Linked DNA regions of Homo sapiens: regions 1, 2, 3, 4, 6 and 7 are each linked to region 5. The links are contacts of gene promoters, found by promoter capture Hi-C in blood cells and fetal thymus (Javierre and others, 2016). All regions are on one chromosome and are shown on one strand. The core of a region is centred on a gene start or on the middle of the fragment in contact, and the rest is flanking DNA. Distances in the headings are between cores, read along the strand shown. Region 1 overlaps PRICKLE2 (prickle planar cell polarity protein 2). Region 2 has its middle 7.9 kb from the start of PRICKLE2. Region 3 has its middle 33 kb from the start of C3orf49. Region 4 overlaps PRICKLE2 (prickle planar cell polarity protein 2). Region 5 holds the start of PSMD6-AS1 (PSMD6 antisense RNA 1). Region 6 has its middle 8.1 kb from the start of C3orf49. Region 7 overlaps PRICKLE2 (prickle planar cell polarity protein 2).

Region 1 (2,700 bases), core at 73-2,572, 190 kb after region 5:
GCATGTTCTCATGCAGTGGGAGCTAAATGATGAGAACACATGGACACATAGTGGGGAACAACACACACTGGGCCCTACCACAGAGTGAAGGCTGGGAGGAGGGAGAGGGTCAGGAAAAATAACTAATGGGTACTAGGCTTAATATCTGGGTGATGAAATAATCTGTACAACAAACTCCCATGACACCAGTCTACCTGTGTGACAAACTTGCACATGTACCCATGAACTGAAAATAAAGTTAAAAAAAAAAAGAATTTTCCCTAAAAGCATTATCACACCTAAAGTTTCCAAGTTAAAATTTCAAGGGCTGATGGCCGGGTGTGGTGGCTCACGCCTGTAATCCCAGCACTTTGGGAGGCCAACACGGACGGATCACGAGGTCAGGAGATCGAGACCATCCTGGCTATCATGGTGAAACCCCATCTCTACTAAAAATACAAGAAAATTAGCCAGGGGTGGTGGCGGGTGCCTGTAGTCCCAGCTACTCGGGAGGCTAAGGCAGGAGAATGGCGTGAACCCGGGAGGCAGAGCTTGCAGTGAGCCAAGATCGCGCCACTGCACTCCAGCCTGGGCGACAGAGCGAGACTCTATCTAAAATAAATAAATAAATAAATAAATAAATAAATAAATAAATAAATAAAACAAAAAAAATTTCAAGGGCTGTTTAAACTTTAAAACGTTTTTGTTGGACATAGAGAAGATGTCCTGAGAAAGAAATTTTATGTGTCAGAGGAAGTCAACAGTGGTCAAACACTTCAGATTCTGGCACTTCAGATTCTCACAGGAAACATCATGAAAATACCCAGCTTATAAAAGAGCTTCTTAAACAACATGGGGCTGGTAGAGGAGAAAATTTGAAGTACCAAGAAATACAAGAGGCTGTATTTCACTGAGAAAAATGTGGTACACCTCTGAGATGTTTCTAGACAATCCTGGTAACAGTTAATAATGACAATACAGAATGAATTAGCAATGGATCACTCCTGGCTCAATTTCATTTCCCTTCCTCATTTTCCACTGGGGCCCCTGGCATCTTCAACATATTTAGCCCTACCACTTCTCTGAATCAGCAAAGTCTACTCTTCCTACAGAACTGGAATGAGGAAGGACCAGTAAGGCAAAGTGAAACACCCAAACCACCAGCATGCTCCCATCCAGAATGGTACCTGTTCAGGCTTCAGACCCGGCGGGACCCAGGCATACTCTTCCAAAGCACAGCCTGAGTCATCATCTGAGGTCGAGTTCCTCTGAAAGTCAAACATGAGTTTGCTGATGGTCTTCTCCATCTCCAGCGGCATCACTGTCACCATGTGCTCCTCCTGGGGACACTTGCAGTGCAGGCAGATCTTCCTGCAGGCAGTAAAGGTAGAAGGTGAGAAAGAGGAAAAAACCTTTTTTTTTTTCCAAGAGCCTGCCAGTCACTAGCCCCTGGATCCCAAACCATAAACACATTCCTTGGCAATGGGCATCGGGCAAAGGCATCGCGAGCAGTGTTCCAGAACATGACTGTCTTTGCAGAGGGCGTGGTACACGCATGTGAAAACAGCATGAAAGGTCAGAGGCCACCAGGTAAGCATGCTAAGGGTGTTTACATGTGGACCCCAGCCTTCTCTTCTAAATCAATACCCCAAGAGGAATGGTAATATAGTTTTTATTTTACTAGGTAGACCACTGGATATGGCCCATGACCACAATTTCCTTGACTGCAATAGCAATTAAATATACATAATACATATGTTGACCTGAAGTGTTACTTGTAGATTTAACAAATACTGACAACATACTGCTTTTATAAAAGGTTCCTAAGCCCTGGAAAATGGAGAAAATGGTTTTAAAAATGCAGGTAAAATGTTCTTTAAGAAGAAGAGCAAACATACATATTTTTTCTCATGAAACGTATCTGGCCCTAAGATCTCATAGGAAAGACAATTTCACCTCCATTAAAGATCCCTGTAGGTTTGGAATTCTAATTAGAAACCCAAATTTTCCCTATGTTGGTGGGGTTTTTTATATACAAGAAGATCATGCATGTGAATTATTTCAAAAGGTAGCAGCCAAAGATAAAAATCTCCCAAACTGAACATTTCTCTTTTAAGGTTACCATCTGTTCTCTTATCCATAGCTACAGAAATGATGAAGCAATAAATATGTTGATGTCAGCAACACAAAAGCATTTCTAGCTTCCACCAATAAAATAAAAAGAGAGAAAAAAAGAATAGAGGAGGAAAATTTTAAGGAAATAAGTTATTCCATGTTCACTCTTTTTAAAATTATTAGTTTCCGTAGCACCTTATAAAGGTGATAAAAGAGCCCAGAATTTTAATCCCCAGATGTGCCTGAACGTTCTGATAACAGCTTTGTGAAGATACAATGTACAAACCATAAAACTCACCATTTCAAAGTGTACAATTCATGGACTCTTAATACATTCGGAATTGTGAATCATCACTATCTAATTTTCATCCCCTCCCCAAAAGAAACCCCAGGAGCATTGGCAGTTATTTCCCATATCCCTCTGCCCCCAGGCTCTAACAACCACTAATCTATTTTCTGTCTCTATGGTTTTGCCTATTTTGGACATTTCATATAAATGCAATCATATAATATGTGGTTCTTTTGAAGTTGGCTTCTTTCACACAGAATGACTTTTCAAGGTTAATCCAAGTTATAGCATGTATCAATCCTTCATCCCCTTTTATT
Region 2 (2,700 bases), core at 37-2,536, 220 kb after region 5:
AGAAGGTTCCCTGTGCCATCAGATTAGATCAATTCCTTTGTACAAGGGAAGAGTACATAGAGTGTTGCACTCTTAGATGTGTGTCCTTTCCCTTAGGACTCTCATTCTGGTTCACAGTTCTACATCCTTGGTTAGTTATGATGATCCATCCTTGGTCAATGTTAACGATTATGTGATTAACCTCTCTCTCTTACTAACCAGACTCTATGTGGCCTAAGAGCAGAGACCATGCCTTTTGTGGCTCACCATTCTATTCAAAGGATCTACTGCTTTGTGGCCTGACAGCTAATGAACATTTTTGGAATTAATAAAAAGCTTGACAATGCTTCTTCTAATCTAGAAATTAGAGGAATTTCAGGATTATTCCTGTAAGAATACCTCTCTGTTCATTTGCATTCCAACATACTCTTGTGAGTGGGAAAGGAAAGGATGGAGTTCAGCTCACTGAAACACTTCTTAGCTTTGCTTCCAGGATGCCACATTCTCCTGCTTTCCCTCCTACCCTCTGGCTGCTCCTTCTCAGGCTCTTTTGCTGGCTCATGCTCATCTCCTTCAGAGCTTAATGCTGGAGAACCTGCGGCTAAGTCCTGGGACTCCTGTATATCTACATTTGCTTCTCTGGTCTAGGGTAGGGTCTTAAACACACCTTTAGGCTGATGACTCAAGGCGAGACCTTTTCCATGATCTCAAGACCAACTGCCTATGTCACATCTCCATCTCTTAATTCCCAGTTGAGTCCACACCATATCCCCCACAATCTGCTCCATCTGTAGTCTTTGCTATCTCAGTTAATGGCAACTCCACACTCCCAACGGATGAGAACAAATACCTTTGAGCCATCCTTCACCCCTGACATCTAATCCAGAGGAGGTTGACAAACTATATCCCACAGGCCAAATCTGGTTTGCTTCACGTTTTTGCAAATACTTTTATTGGAACACAATCATGACCATTCATTATGTGCTATCTATGGCTGCATTCATGATACAATGGCAGGGTTGAGTCATTGTAACAGAGAACGTACAGCCTGCAAAGCCTAATACATTTACACTCTGGTCCTTGACACTGAACATTTTCCAGCCCTTGGCAAATCCCGTTAGCTCTACTGTCAAAATATACACAGGATCTAATATCTTTCCTCCACCATCATCACACTGGTCCATGCCACTGCCATTTCTCTCCTGGATGAAGTTCCAAGTCACCATCAACTCTTGCCTCCTACCTGGTCTATTATTGCTCCCCTTCAGTCTATTCACAAAACTGCAGTCATCTTGATTCTCTGAAAACAAACATTGCAGCATGCCATGCTTCTGCTCAAGACTACACTGGTGATGCTGCTCATCTCAGAATAAGTCCCTGGAGATCTAGGTCCTATTGCTTCTCCGACACTATCTCCTGCTACTGTCTCCCTTCCTGTCACATGAACACTGGCCCTCAAACATGCCAGGCACATGTGTGCCTCCTGGTCTTTGCACTTGTCTGAAATATTCCTCCTGCAGAAAGTCATGTGGCTTGCTCTGTCACTATTTCAAGTCTAATGTCACCTTGGTGAGGGCTAAGTCTTACCATCCTATCTGAGATTGTCATCCTTCCCGCATCTTACTAACATGGCCAAACAATTCCCTACTTTATTTTTCTCCTTAGATCCTTTTAAGAAGAGTTATATTGAAATATAATTAATATACTATACAGCTCACCCATTTAAGTATATTCATAGGGTTGTACAACCATCACCACAATCTAACTTTAAAACTTTCTTCAATCCAAAAAGAAACCCTCTAGTAAGCAGTAGTCACTCCCCACTTGTCCCACTGCTCCAGGCCTAGGCAAACACTAATCTACTTTCTGTCTCTATAGAGTTGCCTATTCTTGACATTTTATATTAGTGAAAACATATAATATGTGGCCCTTTGTGCCTGGCTCTTCACCTAGTGTATTTTTGGTTCATCCTGTAGCTTATATCAGAATTTCATTCTTTTTATGACAGAGTAATATTCCATTGTACTAATATACATCATATTCATCTATTCATCAATTGATGGATATTTGGGTTGTTTCCAGTCTTTATGATTATAAATAATGCTACTATGAACATTCACGTATAAGTTTTTGTGGGGATGCATGCTTTTTATTTTCCTTGGATACATATCTAGTAGTGGGATTGCTGGGTCGTATAACTCTAGGTTTAACATTTCATAGAACCATCAAGCAGTTTTTCAAAGTGCTCCTCCAGTTTCACATTCTCACAAGTGATATCTGAAGCTTCCCATTTCTTCATCTTTGCCAAAACTTGTTACTGTCTTTTTTATTATAGTCATCCTAGTGGGTATGAAGTAATACCTCATAGTGGTTTTTATTTGCACTTGCTTAATGGCTAATAATGTTAAACATCTTTTCATATGTGTGTTGGCTATTTGCATACCTTCTTTGGAGAAACGTATATTCAAATTTTTTGCTCATTTTAAAATTGGGCACACGTGTTAAAATTAGTAAGTTATAAAAGTTCCTTGTATATTCTGGGAACATGTCCCTTATTAGATATATGATTTATAAATGTTTTCTCCCATCATGTGGGGTATATCCTTTTTCTTGATAGTGTCTTTGAAGCATAAAGATTTCTAATTTTGATAAAGTTCGTTTATCTATTTTTTCTTTTTTCCCTTGTACTTCAGTTCCGCTTTTTAAGAGCATTCTTCTAGG
Region 3 (2,700 bases), core at 9-2,508, 230 kb before region 5:
AGTAGAAGTTGGATTGAGCCAAATACGCACCACTGCACTCCAGCCTGGGCGACAGAGTGAGACTCCATCTCAAAAAAAAAGTGAAAGTGTTAGAAAGGCTAATTGCTTTCTTCCTTCCTTGCTGTCATCAACCCTCCAGCATTCAGCTAGACCCCAGGTAGCTTGAATTCTTTAATGCTGCAGATCTCGTCTAGTTTTGAACTCCTAATCTGTTTCACTGAGAGGTAATCTCATATGATGTGTGGGCCCCTAGTCTCCACTGGACTTCTCTTCTTCTTCTTTTTTTTTTTTTTTTTTTTTTTTTGAGACAGTGTCTTGCTCTGTCACCCAGGCTGGAGTGCAGTGGCGTGATCTCGGCTCACTGCAAGCTCTGCCTCCTGGGTTCACGCATTCTCCTGCCTCAGCCTCCCGAGTAGCTGGGACTACATGCGCCCGCCACCATGCCCGGCCATTTTTTTTGTATTTTTAGTAGAGACAGGGTTTCACTGTGTTAGCCAGGATGGTCTTGATCTCCCGACCTCATGATCCACCTGCCACGGCCTCTCAAAGTGCTGGGATTATAGGCGTGAGCCACCGTGCCTGGCCTCCACTGGACTTCTCTTCTAAAGATGCTAACACTTAGGATATATCCCATCCTCAGCTTTCATAATAGAAAAGAATATCTTATCAGATTCAGGAGCAATTTGATTGGAAAGGTTTAAAGGTCCATTTCCTTTTCCTATGAAGCACATTGATGCAGAACATATGACTGAAAAGGGTGTTCATAAAAATCACTACAAAAATAAAAATAATAACTTGAACCAGTGGCTACCCACTTAGGAGATGGCATGTGTGTGCATTAACTTTTTAAAGATACTGTATTACACGGTGAATGAATTTGGTGTCACAGGTATCCAGAGAGGAGTATTCACCTACTTCCACAGCAGGATGCAAATGCCACCCCCAAAATAATCGTGGCTTCACTCTGAAAACAGGATGATGCAGAGAGGAGCCCCAACAGCCAAGTCTAGCATCAACCAGCCACCATGCAACTATCTGTTAAGTAATGATTTCATTAAAAAAAAGAAAACCACCAAAAGCATCTTAATTTGGGGAGCACATCAAGGCCAGATGAGGGAAAATATTCATGAAAAGGGAAATACGAACCAAAGAACTGGCATTCCAAATGAAAACCCAGTAGTAGTATTTACCTTCTAGATTCACTTTCAAAATCAAAAACTGCTGCTGTGGAAATTGTTCCGATGCTGTCAATTATAAAGCCAGAGCCCTCCGGGGAAATGAAGTACTGTTTATTGGACAGTAAAGAGAAAGCAAAATATTGCAGATACATCAACTACTTCCCTGGCCTGATTCCACGCATCTCTAAAAACCAGGCGTGAAATCTCTTTGTGCTCTGAGCCCATTCCCACTCCCCTGACCCCCCTCCCCTATACATGATAGACGCTCAGTAAATGTTCGTAACTGATGATGATGATGATGAAGTTATATTCCATTCAACCAATTTCAAGTTTCAATTCTTTCAAGTTTCTATTCTTGAAAAATTTCTATTCTTTTTCAAGAATAGAAAAATGAATTTTCCTGTTCTCTTATGTTCAGTATGTTATCTGAACATTTCTCACAACACTTCCCCCAATGCTAAAATTAAATAAAAAGGAGTTTACATTTAGAGAAACATGCTGACTGTTTAATGAGAACTCAGGGATAATTTTGTTTGTTTGCTTGTTGATGGAAAGAATGGGCTTTTATGTGGAGGGAGGTCGTGGAGCTAAAGAAGGAAAAAAAATATGAAATACTCCGACGTCTGTTCATCTGAATTTGTATGTGTAGGCACAGGCAATATTTTATCAAGTTGTTTTCTTAACCTGTCTTTGATTTTCATTTATACTGCCTTCCAGTTGCTCTGTTAAGTGCTTCAAACACGTTGTCTTTTAATTCTCACAATAACTCTATGTCATAGGTACTGATATTATCCCTATCTCACAGATAGAAACACAGGCTTAGAAATTTCAAGTGGCTTGTCCCCAGTTTGAGAGCTGAGTGTTTAGTCACTTTACATCATGTCTCTCTGTTCTCCACATTTTATCCCTAAGATAAACTTCTCGAGAAAGACAGCAGTGGAAGTCAGGGTCTCTCATCTAGGTGAGAATCAAATGACCAGAAAAATCCAGGGCAAAAATCCATAAGAGAATTAATATCAAGAGTTCATTACCCTGAGTGCTATTTACTTAACAATTGTGTAGACACAGAGATCATTTAATAGAGAAGATTAAGCCCAGAAGAACTGCAAAGCAACCTCAAAATCTTTTGGAGAAATGAGTGACCTTTTAATTTATCGACTTTCTGATGAATCATCATGTTCTGATTCGTTTTAATTCATACCATCCATTTCCATATATGTAAATGAGATGGACTTGATTTCTGCTCTTTCTGTAGAACAATGTAGAATATTAGCATTCAGGAACACAGGCAAATCCATTACATATTTACTTTTACGTCAAACACGGGAATAATAATGCTTATTTCATGGGGAAAGGAAGAAAGGCAGTTGTGGTTAAATTACCTGAGAGCACTCACAGACACTGGGTCTGGTTATATATAAATATATATGATTTTTAAAAGATGCTTGCATTTATGTTTGCAGTTCCAAATTCAATTTCGGTGTCACACAGTTGTCAACAACTGTTTGGGAGCAATGCACAT
Region 4 (2,700 bases), core at 173-2,672, 200 kb after region 5:
TCCCAAGCCTGCTAGATGTAGCAACGCCTACACACTTTTAGCATAGTTGACGAAACGAACAAGGAGGAGCCGGGACCGTGGACTTCCTTGGTGCACGGGATGAGTCTTAGTCATTTATTCATTATCTCTTTTTACCACCTCTATCTTTACTATCCTACTCCAACTCACCATTACCTCCTGCTTGAGCTACTACAATAGCCTACTTCTTAATTTCCTGCCTCCATGCCTGCCCTTCTAGAATCTAATTTCCACCACCGTTTGTTTTTTAAACAATGATGATAACACTCAGCTCTCCTGCTTAAAATGTGCCATTAACTTCTGACAACAGTGAGAATGAAGCACAAACTCCTTAACCATAGCCTACAAGACCCTATATAACCTGGTCTGTTCCTCTCTCCCCAAATTTATTTTGTTCTACTCTATTCCCCATCTTGTTCCAGCCTCAGCAGTCTTTATTTGTCCTTTGAATTTGCCAAGGCTTTCCCTCTCTTAGGATCTTTGCAGCAGCTGCTCCTCGGCCCAAAACACCCTTCCCTCAGTACTTCAGGAGCTGGTCTGCTTTTCACTATTCCCATCATCAACCAAAGACATCTTTTCCTTAACATCAGACGCCATTTTATTTGTTGGTGTGTCTAAAATACCTTTTCCCATTGTAATGTAAATTTTAAAATCCTTTATCTAGAATAATAAGCATTCAATAAGTAGCTCTTTGAAATTTTGACTAATACTTAGTCTGAAATCTAACTGCAACCAGTGAGCTACTAACAAGATATGACCAAAGCGTAAATTTTATTTTTCATATTTATTTTTTTACAATAACTGAAAATGTATATTGCTACAATGATGTCAAAAATGTAGAATGTGATTCAACTACATGACGAGTAGTGTTTGGCCAAGATCACATTAAAGAAAGACTGCCTTTGTCCTCAATTAAATGAAAGTATGCAAAAGCTTAAGATGAGGTAGAGAAAAATATATTACAGCTGACAATGTACCATAACTATAGTGTAGTAATTTAATTCTGTTACTGTACTGCAAAATGTCAAGTATTTGAAAGAACGCCTCAAGTACAGAAATACTGAAAAACTCTGGCCTAGCACACAGCAAATGTTCAAAAGGTTGTTAAACTGTTGAGTGAACAATAAAAACTATCTGAGAGATAGAAGGAACAAGAACTCCTATGGCCTTGGCATCTGAGACCACGACCGTCAATTTACTCATCTACAGAATGGAAGAAAATCAGGTAACTCTCTCCTTCTAGCTCCGCAGGGTTTAACATTAGCTCCTGGGTAATCATGTAGAAAAATGCTGCATTTCTCTGGGCTATCTGCTCTGGGGCAGAAAAACATTATTTTTTCCAGTCTCACATTAACCTGTAGAGATTTCTCTGGATGAGTTTACAACAACCTACCAGCCAACTTAGCAGTTTTAAACCTTTCGGGTGACTTGATGCCCTTAAAATCTGATGAAAGCTGGGATCCTCTCCCTTAAAAAATGGACATATGCACATTCACAGAAAATTTTGCATTAAATTTCAGAAAGTTCATCAATTCTGTCCAGTCCTTTGCTGTCCAGGGATCCTAAGCTAAAAACATCTGGTTTGGAAAACTGGTTAAGTGCAAAAGACCGGCTGTGATATTTTAAACTACCCACAGGGCCAAAGTCAGCGCCTTACATCTCGCAGATGCTCAATTGCTATTTCTCACTCTCTGTAACATTCTTTTAAAAATTCAAAATAGCACATGATATCATAGTTACCATTTAGGATGCTGCATCTTAGCAATTCAGTGGTGCAGGATTTAAAACCATTTTTAAGCATTACAAGGGCAAACAACGTGAGTGTTTAGGCAGCTGGTTAGGCAGCCAAACTGACACAGTGAAAAGAAGGCAGGTTCAAGCTTTCTGATCAGTCAGGCCCTGTGATTATGCTGCTTTCTACTTATTCCCCTTTCAGAAGCCAGTCTAGCAAGAATCGAAGCTCCTGTTGAGAGAGGAGCACGTGAATTCTTTGCTGTGCATTTTCACCCTCCTTCCTAATGAGGCAGGCACTTCGGAGTGGCCCAACCTCCACAGGATGCAAGGGTGGGGGTGTCATCTTTCCAGTCCGTGGCAAGCTTCTAGTCTTGACAGGCTTTCCTGGCAACTTCTGAGATGATGAACTCAAAAGCAAGTAATAGACTCAGGCAGCGATTTAAATGAAGTTCTGACTCTTGCTGGATAAGCTGTCAGGGGAAGGGGAGAGCTGTAGCTGAGGGCTATGCAGTTGCTGTGCCAGGAGCACGCACTTCATATCCCCTGACTACCTAACCAATGGCTGGACTGCCAGGAGGATGCCTACAGAAAACAGCCCCTTGTAAAGGAGGTATTCCTCTGACAGCATCACAGCAGGAGACCTGGAGAAAGACCCTACATCACTGGTACTGAAAAGGGACAGGAGCCCTAAGGTATTAATCAGAATAAAAGGATGTATATTACAGAGAAAGAAAGAAAAAAAGACTATTAAAACTTTAATTTACCAAAAATTAAACTTTCTTTTTAATTTGTATAAATTTAGGGGGTACAAGTGCAGTTTTGATACATGGATATACTGCATAGTGATGAAGTCTGGGCTTTTAGTATATCCATCACGTAAATAGTGTACATTGTACCCATTAAGTAATTAACTAAAACTTTCAGTAAGCCTGCAGAACATTCACATTC
Region 5 (2,700 bases), core at 131-2,630:
AGCTGACCTGGGCACATTGTGAAGTAAGCTATAAAAATTCCAAATAATTATCTCTAAAGCAAATCCTTTGTTAGTTACATGGCTTTACATATTAATTACTCTGGAAAGTTTTTGAACTCTGTTTAGTAGCAGATCTCCTTTCTTGATAGTTTCTTGGTACTGCCAGTTCTTGCTATCAGGTCTATAAATAAATTCAAGAAAAAATGAATTATTTACCAGTCACATTATTCCATGACAATAGTTGACCTACTTTTAAAATTTAGGAATGCCCCTTATTCTGAGAAATGAGAGTACCTGTTGGTTTCTACTATTTCATTCACTTTATCTATTTTGCAGTGTAGTCTCCCGGCAGCAATAAACCTGGACAGTTCCCTAATTTAGAGACAAAAAATAACAGAATTAGCTTTATAGAAAATTCTTAGAAAAATGCAAACGGCATTAAAATACTGTCTTAAATTTGTAACAAACATTTAGCTTCCCTTCAAGCTTGTTATTGCACATGCAGTAGTTGACGTTGTCCCTCCTATACTGCAGGCTTTAAGTCATCATCTACTAGAATAAACATGATCCTAGAAGTTCATATTCAGATAGATAGAAAGTAGATCAAACAATGAAACCATATGTACTCAGAGAAAAACTGTAGGTTAGGAAAAATTAGGGACCAAAACTGATAAAAACAGTAAACTGTTTCAAACAAAAGACCTAAAACAAAATTATGGAACACAGCCCATCAGTAAACATGTCAACAGCAATAGTATTAACATGTCAACAGCAATAGTATTTACTAAAACAACGACCCTTTCCCTCTCTAACATATCTTAGTCTAAACAAGTGGAAGGGAAGGGGAGAAATGATGTAGAATTATTGCTTTGCCCATTTTAAAAAAGGGGATTTCATCTAAAATGTAACTTTTTAAGGGAGAAAAAAAGAATAAAGAATCCATGACAACCCAGATTTGAAATTCTTAGGTATCACAGAAATTTAAAACAAGGCCTTTTTAGGTAACAACAACTAGAGCTCAGTGGTACAACCTTTGCCTCTCAAGCTGGTCTTAGAACATGAAGGGAAAAAAAAAAAACTGAACAAATACTACCTGAATTCAACTACTACCTGAAAGGTACCAGCTGCCTTGCATTCACTTGTCATCAAGATGACTTAAGGAATACTGCGGTGTGTGCCCCTAACTAATGAAGGCTTTATCTCCACATTACAGTTACGATACTGAAGAGACGTAACCTGACCAAGGCCACAGAGCTGGAAAAAGAAGCAAAGCCAAGCCGTTTTTCTCATGCACTGCTCACAACAAGCCCCTCCTTCCACTGACTCATGAAAAACACACTCATAATGCCCAGCCCGCACCCTAATGAACAGCCCTCTTAAGAGTGGTCATCAGACTTCAATTTCACAGACTAGAATTGAGAAATGGAACAAAACCTTGGGATACCAGCCTTCCATTTTGGTAGGGATCATTTAAAAAATGGTAGGGATCATTTAAAAAATGTGTTGGTGTCTGAAACTTACTTTGAAGTGGTTAAAAAACATAAAATGTATAGATTGTAACAAGCAAATATGTTAAAATGTACTGTACAATTCTTTCTTTACAATTTTATGGATGTTCGAAATTTAAAAAATACTAGAAAGAGAATGGTCTTATTTAAAAGAAATGCATCTTCATTTAAAGTTTCCACTGCAGACCATTGAAAACACCATCATCAACATTTAAAAACACCTACATGTGGGAGCCACTGATCTAGATGCCATCTGGACATCCCATATTGAGTATGTCTCCTACCCAACTCTACTCTCACCACCCTCGTCCACGCCACGGTAACATCTCCTCTAAGAGCTACTAAACAGCACAACTGGTCCTCTCTGCCACCTTACTCTATTTCTTATATAAAGACACTGCATAGGACCATGTAACTTGGGCTCTAAATCTTCCAATGGCTCCCTATCAAACTTACTTAAAACTCAAGCTCCATCCCATGACCTACAAGGCCCTACACAAATCATTACCTACCTAACTCTCCATATATTATCCTCAAAATCTCCTACCACTCCAACTATGCTGGAGCCACCCTGACATTTTCTGTTCCTACAACATCCAAGCTTATTCCTGGCTCAAAGCCTTAGCCTTTTCTATTCCCTTTTCTGCACGCAGAAGGACTCCATATGGCTGACTCCTCTCAATTCAAATCTCAGAGCAAACCTCACCTCCTTAAGCATGCCGTACGTAAGGATAGCATTTTCTCATCTCCATAGGTTCATTTCTATATGTGAAATTACGTTTTATATTTATTTGCTTCCTTGCCATCTCTTCCCTACTACTACAATGAAAGTGTGAAAAGGGAGCTGTAAAACAATACCAAACATATAGTAATGAATGGCTCATTAAGTATTTATTTGTTTAATCACTGATGCAAGTACTAAAAGTCCCACATTTAACAACCAATCTGACCAGAATTGCAGCAGCAACCTAAAAACTGGAAGGAATTATCAGAGGGAATATGACCAACTGTAAATATCAGATCTAAGAGTCATTACCGTAGCTGCAGTGTGGTCTACAAAGAAGTAACAGAAGACAACTTTTGATAACAACTGGTCTAATGACCTTTAACAAATCACTTAGCCTCACTACAACTCATCTTCCCATCTGTTAATGCAAGGGGCAGACATGACATGAGGAAGGCAGAGGCAACA
Region 6 (2,700 bases), core at 159-2,658, 200 kb before region 5:
GGAGTAAACATAATTGCGGTTTTTGCCATTAAAAGTAATGGCAGGCCGGGTGCAGTGGCTCATGCCTGTAATACCAGCACTTTGGGAGGCTGAGTCAGGTGGATCACTTGAGGTCAGTAGTTCAAGACGAGCCTGGCTAACATAGTGAAATCTCATCTCTACTAAAAATACAAAAAATTAGCCGGGGCATGGTGGTGCCTGTAATCCCAGTTACTGGGAAGGCTGAGGCAGGAGAATCATTTGAACCCAGGATATGGAGGTTGCAGTGAGCCGAGATCACACCACTGCAATCCAACCTGGGCGACAGAGCAAGACACCATCTCAAAAAAAAAAAAGTCATGGCAAAAACCGCAATTACGTTTGTGCCAACCTAATATAATGTCACTATAGCAGAGAGGTCTTCTCAGGCCAAATAAAAAAATTTCCCACCCCTGCAGACACTTCCTATCTCTTAAAATTTCACATATTATTTGTTCATTTTTTTGCCTCCTCCCTATCCCCCTCCCACTTAAAATACAAGTGTCATGAAATTGGGAACTTTCATCTGTTCCTCGCTGTATGCTCAGTACTAAGAACAGTGTCTGTCCATAGTAGGCACTTAATAGAGATTTGTGGAATGATCAGGTGAATAAATGAATACATAAAATGATCCTTTTTTGCTAACTGAAGTATATCAAGCCTATTGACCTATGGGTCAAGACCTTATTATTTCGTGACACGGAATGCACTTGAAAACTTGCTACTACATGTCATTTTGTTGGTTCGGATTCTCTATTCAATTCCACAGGTTGGGCCATGTCAATGACGGCTTATATCTGTATTCGATGGTGTCTTGTTGCCATTGCATTAAAGAGTGAATTGATTTTAGGTTTTTCTTCAATATATTTGCATGAGCTGAGAAACTTGGGAATAATTTGGTTTTCCACTAAAGGTATATTCTGAAAAACAATCTCAATCCCTTAACATACGATAATCTCTAGAAAAGGGGATCATAATTTTCCGAGAATATCAACCCATCCACCAAACTGGTTTTGTTTTGTTTGAGACAGAGTCTCACTCTCTCACCCAGGCTGGAGTGCAGTGGTGCGATCTCAGCTCACTGCAACCTCCACCTACAGGGTTCAAGAAATTCTTGTGCCTCAGCCTTCCGAGTAGCTGGAATTACAAATGTGCACACCACCACACCTGAGTAATTTTGTATTTTCAGTAGAGATGAGATTTTGCCATGTTGCCCAGGCTGGTCTCAAACTTCTGACCTCAAGTGATCCGCCTGCCTTAGCCTCCCAAAGTGCTGAGATTGCAGGTGTGAGACACCATATTCGGTCCAAACTGTTATTTAAGTAAGCAGGGCTGGCATTTTATTATGCATTTCCTGTTAAAATAGTTAAATAAAAAACTCTTCACTTTCTGAAATTAAGTCAATAACTAAAAATAATAAAAATAGAGCCAGGCACGGCCAGGCGAGGTGCCTCGCACCTGTAATCCCAGCACTTTGGGAGGCCGAGGCGAGCGGATCACGAGGTCAGGAGATCAAGACCATCCTGGCTAACACAGTGAAACCCCATCTATATTAAAAATACAAAAAACTAGCCGAGCATGGGGGCGGAGGCCTGTAATCCCAGCTACTCCGGAGGCTGAGGAAGGAGAATGGTGTGAACTCGGGAGGCGGAGCTTGCAGTGAGCCGAGATCATATCACTGCACTCCAGCCTGGGTGACAGAGCAAGGCTCTGTGTCAAAAAACAAAAACAAAACAAAAAAAAAAACAAAAAAAAATAGAGCCAGGCACACTGGCTCACACCTATAGTCCCGACTACTTGGGAGGCTGGGGTGGGAAGATCACCTGCGCCTCAGTTCAACTTGGGAGGTATAGCAAGACCCCTTCTCTAGAATAAAATAAAAAGAATAAAAATAATCATAGGCTCATAGCTGTATTACAAAGACAAATTGTGAAAAAATAGAGAATGCTATGTGAAAATGCTGGCATAGAATGATGGAAACTGAGATGCTGCCTCTTCATACTCAAGGACAAGAGGAGATTAAAAAAAAAATTGATCTCCAGAAAGACAGAACCAATAGAAAAAATATATTAAAAATAAAATTAATTTAAAATTAAAAAAAAAAACTAGTTGAACTCTGTTCATGGAGATTGTAAAATAATGCCTGACAGCTGGTGTAGAGCACTGGGAGTGGTAGCGACTGCGGTAAACTGAGAACTTGTTCCCACCCAACTGGGGTGCCACTCCTCTGCCTATCTGGGAATGTGGGCTGAGTTGCCAGGGACTCTTATTTTTTTATGAGGATCCTGAAATGGAAATTTTTATGTGAAATCTTCTGATATTCAAAATATCCTGTAGGCCAGGGTTGTCCAATCTTTTGGCTTCCCTGAGCCACAATGGAAGAAGAAAAATTGTCTTGGACCACACATAAAATGCACTAACAAAAATGATGGCTGATGAGCTAAAAACATTTTTTTAATCACAAAAAAATCTCATAATGTTTTAAGAAAGTTTATGAATTTGTGTTGGACCACATCCAAAGCCATCCTGGGTCACCTGTGGTCCACGGGCCACACGTTGGACAAACTTGCTATAGGCCAAACATGTCTGAGCATCTCCACTGTGTGTCTCCAGATTCAAGATAAAAATCTTTACCCAAACACATAAAAAAGTCAAAATATAACAAACTAAGTTGAAATAAAA
Region 7 (2,700 bases), core at 163-2,662, 160 kb after region 5:
GGGGGCAATAATACCCCCCAAGAGATATTTGACAATGTCTACAAACATTTTTTGTTATTGCAACTTGGGGAGGGAGCTGCTTTGGCACATATAGTGGGTAGAGGCCAGGGACGCTGCCAAACTTCCTACAATACATGGGTCAGCCCCAACAGCAAAAGATCCCCATCAAAATGCCAACAGTGCTGAAACTGATAAACTCTTCATCTGCTTTTTGTCAAAGAACTTATCAGTTGTTGACAAATGATCTATTTGTTTGTTGACTTTCTCTTCCCTCTAGAATGTGAGTACTTAGGACTGTGTTTGCTGTATACCCCCAGAAGAGGGTCTGGCATGTACAAGATACTCAATAAGTGTTTGTTGAATGGATGCATGCTGTATTCAAATCTTACCTTTCTAGCTGTCTGGGTTATTAGAGGATCTAGACAGACACATACAGCAAGAGAATAAACAAGCGAGATTTCAAGAGGAAACAGAGTAAAACTCATTAAGCTTCTCTTTCATTCCATCAAAGCATTTGCTTTTTTCACCAAAGATTAGTGCTGTGGGGTGGGTGGAGATGCTAAGTAAAGGATGCATGGAATAACTGTCAATATACTGTTTATTTCAGAGGAAGTGACAAAAGCGACACCCATTTGTATTTGAAGCCAGAGAATTTCTTTCAAGTTGAGTTAACTTCGTTTGAACAAACTAAGGAAAATAATTATGTTATGCCCTAAGCCGGTACCATAATTCAGAATCACATGAGTTGCTTTGCTCCTATGCCTGTTAGTTCTCACATGACCACTCTTTCCAACCCTGTTTATTATTTTATTTAGAATATTAAACTTCAATGTTTTGTTAGAAAATACATTCCATTTAGTTTGGAGCATTATCTGACATTTATTTTATCTTGTGTTAAAGAAAAGGTTGCAGAAATGGAAGAACTTGGGGTTTGAACATTTTCTACTTAAGCTACACTTAAATAGACTCCCTCATCCCAATTTTATCAAAACACCCTTTGCAGATTGTCTACGCATTTGCGTATATGCCCTATTAAAAATTCCCCAACAGTTGCTAACTTCATTTGACAACAGTTTCAATACTGCCTTTAGATAAAATACACACATACATAAGTATGAAAAAAGAAGGATGGCAGTTTCTTATAGGGGTAACTTGTTTGGACTCTGCAGTCAGATTGTTTGGGTTCCAATAATGGATGTAACACTTACCATCTGCATGTAGTTGGGCAAGTTATTTGATCTCTTGTAGAAAGTTAATATCTCCATCTGTAAATTGGGGACAATAATATCTACCTTGAAGCATTAATAAGAGGCTCAAATGATATCGTGTAACTAACAAAGAGAGAGGCACAGGCTGAAGGCTCTATATTTCTTGGCTTTGAAGCAGTCTAATGCATAATTCATAAATGTCTATGTTATAAACAGAATTGTGTACCCCCTGTGATTCACATATCAAATCCCTAACCCCTATGTGTGACTATATTTATAGATAGGGCCTTTAAGGAGGTAATTAAGATTAAATGAGGTCATAAGGCTGGGGCCCTATTCAATAAGACTGGTGTCCTTGTAAGAAGAGGAAGAGATAACCAGGAGCATGCACAGAGAAAAGGCCATCTGCAAGCCAGGAAGAAAAGCCTCACCAGAAATCAACCCTGCTGACATCTTGATCTTGAGCTTTTGGACTCCAGAACTGTGAGAAAATAAATTTCTGTTGTTTAAGCCACCCAGTCTGTGCTATTCTGTTATCTGTGATACGCAAGTGTAAGGAACTGTTGAGTGCTTGTGGGGAAAGAACACACACATGAATGGGAAACCACCCCTAGGTGGAAAGAGGTTATATTTGGCAGAGGGTATAAGACAAGTAGACAAATGACTACAATACAAAGTTAAAATAATGCAAAAGCCATAATAGGTAGACAAAAACACTACAAAGATTCAATAAAAAATAAGTTAGGTACTGATTTGTAGCATTTGCCAATTTCCATAGGGTATGTGATCCCACTATGAATCCCACATTCAAGCTACCAATGTGATGTCATCGGATGTGGAACTGGGAAGAGCTATACATAGCATACCATCACACAGTACTCCCACTATACAGATATAATAGGCAAAACAGTCTCAAGAACATAGATAACAGTGGAATAGGATAAATTAAATAGGAAGTGATGAATTTCAAGTATTTATCATCTTTAAAAAATATAATTTATTTAATTATAAGTTTATATAATTAAATTTTCATAATGGCTGTATTTAACAATGGATTTACAAAATTCCTGAAAACTGACCAATTGGCTCTTGCAAGGCAGTATGAGGCCGGCTCTAGCATTCTGTCAGAAGCTTAAATGGCCAGTATCCTTGGCAAATTCTCTTTTAAAAAGTAAAAAGAGCAGTAGAAGAGCTGTAAATGAGATTAAACAGCTAAAGAGCACTTTGAAGAGTACGATGACAACTGATCTGTTGCCCAACTCTGTCTTCAACGGTCCCAGCAAATCACACATTAAGCCAAGTTGTCTATCTCAGCTGACACATACTTCAGAATAGTCACAGCTCTTCTGTCTCCCAGCCTTTTCCGAATCTCCAGAATTTTGCCCTTTCTCTAAACCACGCTTTTCTTTTCTCCCTCCTGTCTCCTTTCTAAACTCCCAGGAATAATAAGAACTGATGAACACTCACAATTATTTATGTATTGGCAGGTGTT

The links. The method cuts DNA at HindIII sites, captures the fragments that hold promoters and counts their contacts. A CHiCAGO score of 5 or more calls a contact.
Region 1: a fragment that was not itself captured here is called in contact with the fragment with the promoter of PSMD6-AS1 in region 5 in 1 of 17 cell types (megakaryocytes); the score reaches 7.5 in megakaryocytes.
Region 2: a contact is called between a fragment that was not itself captured here and the fragment with the promoter of PSMD6-AS1 in region 5, in 1 of 17 cell types (megakaryocytes). The highest score is 6.5, in megakaryocytes.
Region 3: a fragment that was not itself captured here is called in contact with the fragment with the promoter of PSMD6-AS1 in region 5 in 1 of 17 cell types (monocytes); the score reaches 5.8 in monocytes.
Region 4: a fragment that was not itself captured here is called in contact with the fragment with the promoter of PSMD6-AS1 in region 5 in 1 of 17 cell types (megakaryocytes); the score reaches 5.0 in megakaryocytes.
Region 6: a contact is called between a fragment that was not itself captured here and the fragment with the promoter of PSMD6-AS1 in region 5, in 2 of 17 cell types (total CD4 T cells and total CD8 T cells). The highest score is 5.9, in total CD4 T cells.
Region 7: a fragment that was not itself captured here is called in contact with the fragment with the promoter of PSMD6-AS1 in region 5 in 1 of 17 cell types (megakaryocytes); the score reaches 5.0 in megakaryocytes.

What each region holds. Positions count from the first base shown.
Region 1 is chr3:64,197,618-64,200,317 of GRCh38, forward strand. It overlaps PRICKLE2 (prickle planar cell polarity protein 2), which reads right to left. Exons shown (of 8, transcript NM_198859.4): 2 at 1,167-1,350. The coding sequence starts at 1,310. PRICKLE2-AS3 (PRICKLE2 antisense RNA 3) reads left to right here. Exons shown (of 4, transcript NR_046702.1): 4 at 1,092-2,700. Among named protein-coding and RNA genes, the nearest start is that of PRICKLE2-AS3, 11 kb to the left of the region's middle. The HindIII fragment of the contact is 5,343 bases long and covers 1-2,700 here.
Region 2 is chr3:64,232,033-64,234,732 of GRCh38, forward strand. It overlaps a transcript of PRICKLE2 not described here. Among named protein-coding and RNA genes, the nearest start is that of PRICKLE2, 7.9 kb to the left of the region's middle. The HindIII fragment of the contact is 1,947 bases long and covers 314-2,260 here.
Region 3 is chr3:63,784,787-63,787,486 of GRCh38, forward strand. It overlaps the pseudogene CDHR18P and a transcript of C3orf49 not described here. Among named protein-coding and RNA genes, the nearest start is that of C3orf49, 33 kb to the right of the region's middle. The HindIII fragment of the contact is 3,853 bases long and covers 1-2,700 here.
Region 4 is chr3:64,214,801-64,217,500 of GRCh38, forward strand. The region is part of intron 1 of PRICKLE2 (prickle planar cell polarity protein 2); the gene reads right to left. Among named protein-coding and RNA genes, the nearest start is that of PRICKLE2, 9.3 kb to the right of the region's middle. The HindIII fragment of the contact is 947 bases long and covers 950-1,896 here.
Region 5 is chr3:64,010,584-64,013,283 of GRCh38, forward strand. It overlaps PSMD6-AS1 (PSMD6 antisense RNA 1), which reads left to right and starts at 1,381. Exons shown (of 2, transcript NR_189168.1): 1 at 1,381-1,459. PSMD6 (proteasome 26S subunit, non-ATPase 6) reads right to left here. Exons shown (of 8, transcript NM_014814.3): 7 at 295-372; 8 at 1-181. The coding sequence ends at 85. PSMD6-AS2 (PSMD6 antisense RNA 2) reads left to right here. Exons shown (of 3, transcript NR_038286.1): 3 at 1,214-1,660. The HindIII fragment of the contact is 1,623 bases long and covers 485-2,107 here.
Region 6 is chr3:63,809,823-63,812,522 of GRCh38, forward strand. It overlaps the pseudogene CDHR18P and a transcript of C3orf49 not described here. Among named protein-coding and RNA genes, the nearest start is that of C3orf49, 8.1 kb to the right of the region's middle. The HindIII fragment of the contact is 5,082 bases long and covers 1-2,700 here.
Region 7 is chr3:64,171,268-64,173,967 of GRCh38, forward strand. The region is part of intron 2 of PRICKLE2 (prickle planar cell polarity protein 2); the gene reads right to left. Among named protein-coding and RNA genes, the nearest start is that of PRICKLE2-AS3, 15 kb to the right of the region's middle. The HindIII fragment of the contact is 1,850 bases long and covers 488-2,337 here.